Regions from separate parts of the Homo sapiens genome. Here region 1 is linked to region 2. Evidence: promoter capture Hi-C in human tissues and cell types (Jung and others, 2019). All regions are on one chromosome and are shown on one strand. Each heading gives the region's core, a stretch centred on a gene start or on the middle of the fragment in contact. The rest is flanking DNA. Distances are from core to core; before and after follow the strand shown.

Evidence for each region. The method cuts DNA at HindIII sites, captures the fragments that hold promoters and counts their contacts. A contact is called where the count stands out against the background at its distance.
Region 1: a contact is called between the fragment with the promoter of FAU here and the fragment with the promoter of TRMT112 in region 2, in 1 of the 25 tissues and cell types used here (stomach).

What each region holds. Positions count from the first base shown.
Region 1 is chr11:65,120,060-65,123,513 of GRCh38, reverse strand. It overlaps FAU (FAU ubiquitin like and ribosomal protein S30 fusion), which reads left to right and starts at 1,380. Exons shown (of 5, transcript NM_001997.5): 1 at 1,380-1,424; 2 at 1,693-1,775; 3 at 1,870-2,014; 4 at 2,478-2,533; 5 at 2,708-2,884. The coding sequence starts at 1,701. The coding sequence ends at 2,833. It overlaps MRPL49 (mitochondrial ribosomal protein L49), which reads right to left and starts at 1,193. Exons shown (of 4, transcript NM_004927.4): 1 at 1,090-1,193. The coding sequence starts at 1,167. RefSeq lists enhancers at 903-1,172, 1,333-1,422. The HindIII fragment of the contact is 8,684 bases long and covers 1-1,808 here.
Region 2 is chr11:64,315,549-64,319,017 of GRCh38, reverse strand. TRMT112 (tRNA methyltransferase activator subunit 11-2) reads left to right here and starts at 1,459. Exons shown (of 4, transcript NM_016404.3): 1 at 1,459-1,569; 2 at 1,653-1,754; 3 at 1,871-1,960; 4 at 2,050-2,558. The coding sequence starts at 1,492. The coding sequence ends at 2,157. It overlaps ESRRA (estrogen related receptor alpha), which reads right to left. Exons shown (of 7, transcript NM_004451.5): 7 at 2,275-3,311. The coding sequence ends at 3,052. PRDX5 (peroxiredoxin 5) reads right to left here and starts at 897. Exons shown (of 6, transcript NM_012094.5): 1 at 632-897. The coding sequence starts at 802. RefSeq lists a silencer at 833-992 and enhancers at 1,083-1,282, 2,440-2,955. The HindIII fragment of the contact is 15,117 bases long and covers 1-3,469 here.

The DNA of each region.
Region 1 (3,454 bases), core at 131-2,630, 800 kb before region 2:
ATCTACGCGCCTTGGCCTCCCAAAGTGCTGGGATTACAGGCGTGAGCCACCGTGCCTGGCCCATTTTTCTGTTAAAAACCTTTGTCTTCTTTTACCTCCCTGATAAGCACATAGTCTATACCCATTCCCGAATAAATATCCTTTTCTTTTAGAGTCTGTTATTTAGGTTGACATAAGATAGCACCAGTCTTTGGTTTTCCATGGTGCAGGGTACAGATGGGATGGAAAGGAGGCTCAGGTACTCTGAATGGTCTGCCTCTCAGGATTTCTGTGGGATGCAAAAGAGTATATGTACACTTCTGAAAAGTCAATCAAGCCTTTAGAAACTTAAGGCTTAACTTTCTGTCTCGGTTTTAGAAATAGATATTATTATATTGGCAGCGTGGCCTTGTTTGTACCTCCATGATTGCCTGGCTGGCCTTGCTAACCTAATCACATCTGTGACGGGATATAGTGATGTTTAATCTTATGATTGCCTTAAGAATTAAGGCAATCAGACGGGTTCGGCGGCTCATGCCTGTAATCCCAGCACTTTGGGAGGCCGAGGCGGGCGGATCACGAGGTCAGAAGATCCAGTCCATCCTGGCTAACAAGGTGAAACCCCGTCTCTACTAAAAATACAAAAAATTAGCCGGGCATGGTGGCGGGAGCCTGTAGTCCCAGCTACTCGGGAGGCTGAGGCAGGAGGATGGCGTGAATCTGGGAGGCGGAGCTTGCAGTGGGCCGAGATCGCGCCACTGCCCTCCAGCCTGGGCGACAGAGCGAGACTCCGTCTCAAAAAAAAAAAAAAAAAGAATTAAGGCAATCATAATTCCCCACGCACACTCATATGCTAGGACCCCGCCCCTTACCTGAAACGTTGTGGCTTATATAGACACTGCCAGGCACTGTGTTAAGTGCTCCCAAAGAGCACCCCAGTCTACCATTTTCCCTCTCGATTCTATATGTACACTCGGGACAAGTTCTCCTGATCGAAAACGGCAAAACTAAGGCCCCAAGTAGGAATGCCTTAGTTTTCGGGGTTAACAATGATTAACACTGAGCCTCACACCCACGCGATGCCCTCAGCTCCTCGCTCAGCGCTCTCACCAACAGCCGTAGCCCGCAGCCCCGCTGGACACCGGTTCTCCATCCCCGCAGCGTAGCCCGGAACATGGTAGCTGCCATCTTTACCTGCTACGCCAGCCTTCTGTGCGCGCAACTGTCTGGTCCCGCCCCGTCCTGCGCGAGCTGCCTGCCCAGGCAGGTTCGCCGGTGCGAGCGTAAAGGGGCGGAGCTAGGACTGCCTTGGGCGGTACAAATAGCAGGGAACCGCGCGGTCGCTCAGCAGTGACGTGACACGCAGCCCACGGTCTGTACTGACGCGCCCTCGCTTCTTCCTCTTTCTCGACTCCATCTTCGCGGTAGCTGGGACCGCCGTTCAGGTAAGAATGGGGCCTTGGCTGGATCCGAAGGGCTTGTAGCAGGTTGGCTGCGGGGTCAGAAGGCGCGGGGGGAACCGAAGAACGGGGCCTGCTCCGTGGCCCTGCTCCAGTCCCTATCCGAACTCCTTGGGAGGCCTGGCCTTCCCCACGTGAGCCGCCGCGACCACCATCCCGTCGCGATCGTTTCTGGACCGCTTTCCACTCCCAAATCTCCTTTATCCCAGAGCATTTCTTGGCTTCTCTTACAAGCCGTCTTTTCTTTACTCAGTCGCCAATATGCAGCTCTTTGTCCGCGCCCAGGAGCTACACACCTTCGAGGTGACCGGCCAGGAAACGGTCGCCCAGATCAAGGTAAGGCTGCTTGGTGCGCCCTGGGTTCCATTTTCTTGTGCTCTTCACTCTCGCGGCCCGAGGGAACGCTTACGAGCCTTATCTTTCCCTGTAGGCTCATGTAGCCTCACTGGAGGGCATTGCCCCGGAAGATCAAGTCGTGCTCCTGGCAGGCGCGCCCCTGGAGGATGAGGCCACTCTGGGCCAGTGCGGGGTGGAGGCCCTGACTACCCTGGAAGTAGCAGGCCGCATGCTTGGAGGTGAGTGAGAGAGGAATGTTCTTTGAAGTACCGGTAAGCGTCTAGTGAGTGTGGGGTGCATAGTCCTGACAGCTGAGTGTCACACCTATGGTAATAGAGTACTTCTCACTGTCTTCAGTTCAGAGTGATTCTTCCTGTTTACATCCCTCATGTTGAACACAGACGTCCATGGGAGACTGAGCCAGAGTGTAGTTGTATTTCAGTCACATCACGAGATCCTAGTCTGGTTATCAGCTTCCACACTAAAATTAGGTCAGACCAGGGCCCCCAAAGTGCTCTATAAAATTAGAAGCTGGAAGATCCTGAAATGAAACTTAAGATTTCAAGGTCAAATATCTGCAACTTTGTTCTCATTACCTATTGGGCGCAGCTTCTCTTTAAAGGCTTGAATTGAGAAAAGAGGGGTTCTGCTGGGTGGCACCTTCTTGCTCTTACCTGCTGGTGCCTTCCTTTCCCACTACAGGTAAAGTCCATGGTTCCCTGGCCCGTGCTGGAAAAGTGAGAGGTCAGACTCCTAAGGTGAGTGAGAGTATTAGTGGTCATGGTGTTAGGACTTTTTTTCCTTTCACAGCTAAACCAAGTCCCTGGGCTCTTACTCGGTTTGCCTTCTCCCTCCCTGGAGATGAGCCTGAGGGAAGGGATGCTAGGTGTGGAAGACAGGAACCAGGGCCTGATTAACCTTCCCTTCTCCAGGTGGCCAAACAGGAGAAGAAGAAGAAGAAGACAGGTCGGGCTAAGCGGCGGATGCAGTACAACCGGCGCTTTGTCAACGTTGTGCCCACCTTTGGCAAGAAGAAGGGCCCCAATGCCAACTCTTAAGTCTTTTGTAATTCTGGCTTTCTCTAATAAAAAAGCCACTTAGTTCAGTCATCGCATTGTTTCATCTTTACTTGCAAGGCCTCAGGGAGAGGTGTGCTTCTCGGGTTGGTGGTATGTCCCCTAGGAGAACAGTGAGGCAGAAAAGGCAGAAGCCTTTGGTATGGGGGGAAGAAATGGTAAACTACAAGAGAAATTTCCTGTGAAGAAACAGCTACAGATCCTGGGGGGCTTCAGATGTAAAATTGGGGTTATTCCCTATCCTAAGTAACTTGATCAGTCCCCCCAGGTCATTCTTTTTCATCTTCTAAACAGAGAAGGTAGCAGGAATCACTGTGGTGAGAGGTTTGTTATGGAGGCAGCAATAGAAGGGATGGGTGGGGGAAGAGGTTTGTATAGAAGGTGAACCTGGCCGTTCCCTGAACTTGGTACCAGCTGTGGCCTTAGAGTCCAGGGCAGGAATCTGGTCTGCCTTGGTTTTAGAAGTAAATATTATGTTGGGAGCATGGCCTCGTTTGTACCTCTGTGACTGCCTGGCCGGACTTGGTAACCTAATCACATCTGTGATTGGATATAGTGAGGTTTCAGTGTTCCCAAAAGTTGGGTTACCTCTGGGGCTGATTC
Region 2 (3,469 bases), core at 210-2,709:
ACAGAAAGGTGGGAATTCGCCATGGGGGGAGGGGAGGTCATGGAGTGGGATGGGGTAAGCCCCCGCGGGGGCGCTAAGGGACAGCTGTTTCAGAAGATAGGGGAAATCAGGCCGGGAGTGGTGTCTCACACCTGTAATCCTAGCACTTCGGGAAGCCGAGGCGGGGGGGGGCGGGGGGGGTTCACCTGAGGTCAGGAGTTCGAGACCAATCTGAACAACGGGGTGAAATCCCGTCTCTACTAAAAATACAATAGCTGGGCGTGGTGGCTCGCATCTGTAGTCCCAGCTACTCAGGAGGCTGAGGCAGTAGAATCGCTTGAACCCGGGAGGCGGAGGCTGCAGTGAGCAGAGATTGCGTCACTGCACTCCAGCCTGGGCGACACAGAAAGACTCCGTCTCAAAAAAAAACAAAAAACAAAAAACACAATGCCTCGGGACTGTCCCGGGAGGTGAGGCCCCCACGATTGGCGAGAAAGGTGGGCAGCCACGAGGGCCTTCTGAAGGGATGAGCCGGGCGGGCGGAGGGGAGGGGTCTGGCAGGCAGGAAATAAAGCGATACTCTCAGACTAGCGGGACGGGGATTGCCATGGGGGTAGTGGGGGATGTCAGGCCCGGCCGGGCCAGCGGTCACCTTGATTGGGGCCATGGCTGCAGCGGCTCTGCTGAAACTGCGGACCCCGCCAGACGCCCACTCTCCTTCACTGTACCGTCTTGCTGCCGCTGCCGCAGACTGACCGCCGGCCCCACCGACGAGTATATAGCCCGCTGAGCGTCTCAGGGCGCACACGCCAGCTAGTCCCATACCCGCCCCACGGCCACTTCCACTCCGCCTCCTGGCTGGTGCCACCGCAGCAGGCGGGGCACCGCTAGCGGCACAGCGGCGACACCCTGCGGAAGGCGGGCCTGGGCCGCCTCCACTGCGCAGGCGCGAGCGGCCACCCGCAGAACAGAGCTTCCGGGACCCACGCCTCGTTTGCACTGGGTGCTGGACAGCCGACGCAACTACAAATGGGGCGGAGCTTTCGGCACTGGAGCAGCTAATTTGCATATAGGAATGAGGTGCGGCTCGGCTTCCATGGGCCTAATTTACAGATAGGGCGGTATTTCTGCCCCTTAACCGAAAGTGGGATACAGAGGACGACGGTGTTAGGCGCCTGTGTAGGAGTAAAATGTGTTTATTTTGCATTCAACGAGAGCTCCTGCATTGCAGCTATTTTGCATATGATTTGCATCTTACGAAGAATTTGTGGCAAAAAAAAGCTGGGCGTGCGCCGTAGGAACCTCCTGCTGAGACGCTTCCGGTAGCGGCGCGTGACCCGACAGGTCTTTCACCTACCTACCTCAGCTCCCACAAACACGAGAAGTTCCAGCAAGTTCGCCACTTCCGGTTCTCCTGGCTATCCAATAGCATCGAGAGGAGCATCCCCGGAAGTGAGGCAGCGGAGGACGACCTTTTTCCGGTTCCGGCCTGGCGAGAGTTTGTGCGGCGACATGAAACTGCTTACCCACAATCTGCTGAGCTCGCATGTGCGGGGGGTGGGGTCCCGTGGCTTCCCCCTGCGCCTCCAGGTACCCGCCGGCGGCAGTCTTCCCTTTTCGGGCGGGATGGTGGGCCGGGGTCCAGTGCTTGCCTAAACTCCTCCGCCCTGCAGGCCACCGAGGTCCGTATCTGCCCTGTGGAATTCAACCCCAACTTCGTGGCGCGTATGATACCTAAAGTGGAGTGGTCGGCGTTCCTGGAGGCGGCCGATAACGTGAGGATCCTTACCCCGCCCCAGCATATCCCGGGGAATGCGGGGCGGGCACACCTCAGCCGGGCTGAGGCGGGAGTTCGGGATGCCCGGAGATAATTTTGGCCTCTTGCCCACAGTTGCGTCTGATCCAGGTGCCGAAAGGGCCGGTTGAGGGATATGAGGAGAATGAGGAGTTTCTGAGGACCATGCACCACCTGCTGCTGGAGGTGAGAAGCGGCCCATCACTTGCTTCCCGGGCCACCTGCCTCCCGCACTGAGGCTGCCAGTGCTCAGCTCTGTCCCTCCCTGCCCGCAGGTGGAAGTGATAGAGGGCACCCTGCAGTGCCCGGAATCTGGACGTATGTTCCCCATCAGCCGCGGGATCCCCAACATGCTGCTGAGTGAAGAGGAAACTGAGAGTTGATTGTGCCAGGCGCCAGTTTTTCTTGTTATGACTGTGTATTTTTGTTGATCTATACCCTGTTTCCGAATTCTGCCGTGTGTATCCCCAACCCTTGACCCAATGACACCAAACACAGTGTTTTTGAGCTCGGTATTATATATTTTTTTCTCATTAAAGGTTTAAAACCAAAAGCGGTTTCTCTTTGCAGCAAATATACATTAAAATAGAGTCTCTGTACAGCCAAGGGCTCTGGGCCCTGGCTTGCCCCATGTCCCTGCGCCTCCCTGGCCAAACCCAAAAATAAATATAGTGTTATTGCTCTGCAGGGCATAGAGGCAGTGCTCTCCTACCCCCTGAGGAGGCTCGTTGGGAGCTGATGGGGAAGCCCTGGCCACCCCAGGGGTCCAGGGGCTGGAGTCTGCTTGGAGTTATTGCTTCAAGGGGGGACACTAATGCCCAATGCAAATGATGAGAGGAGGAGCGAAGGGGGCATGGGCCTTTGCTCTCCAAGTCCCACTCTGCTTTGAAGAGGGGGTAGGATTAAGCAGCAGCAAAAGCATCACCCACTGGGAGACTCTGGCCTCCATCCCCTTCCCTCCCTGAGATAGGTTTCTGCCTCCCACGCATCCCGTGCAGCCCCCTATGGCTTCCGCAAGGCCCCCTACACTCTGGGGGCACGTTATGGCTTGCAAGGGGCAGCACTGTGCCCAGAGCCTGGACACACGTTCCCAGCTTCTGACACCCCCTAGGAGGGGGAGGAGAGGGCGTGGGGCCTGTTCCCAGGGGCTGATGGCATTGCCCTGGCCCTGCCAGCAGGCTGTGGCACTGCCCAGACCCCAGCTCCGCCCCAGCCCTTGGGGCTGACCCCATGCTAGGCAGGTCCTGCCAGAACCCCCACCAGTCCCACCCCTTGCCTCAGTCCATCATGGCCTCGAGCATCTCCAAGAACAGCTTGTGCATGGGCACCTTGCCCTCCAGCTTCACCCCATAGAAATGGGCCAGCACTTTGCCCGCTGTCTGGCGGAGGAGCGGTAGCGTGAGCAGCAGCCTGCCCGCCCGCCGCCGCTCAGCACCCCCTCCGGGGCCAGCCCGGCCGGCTTCATACTCCAGCAGGGCCTCGTGCAGAGCTTCTCGCAGCTGCTCCACAGCCTCGGCATCTTCGATGTGCACAGAGTCTGCAAGAAGAGAGGAATGTGGTGTTGGCCTGGGCTATCTCTGGCAAGGGCACTCCCCGTATCTTGAGCACTGCTGGATGGGGCCTAAGGAAGAGCCAAACGAGGATTTGTTGATTGGCTGACTGAGAGGCACCACTCATTGCTGCGGCTCGTGGGCC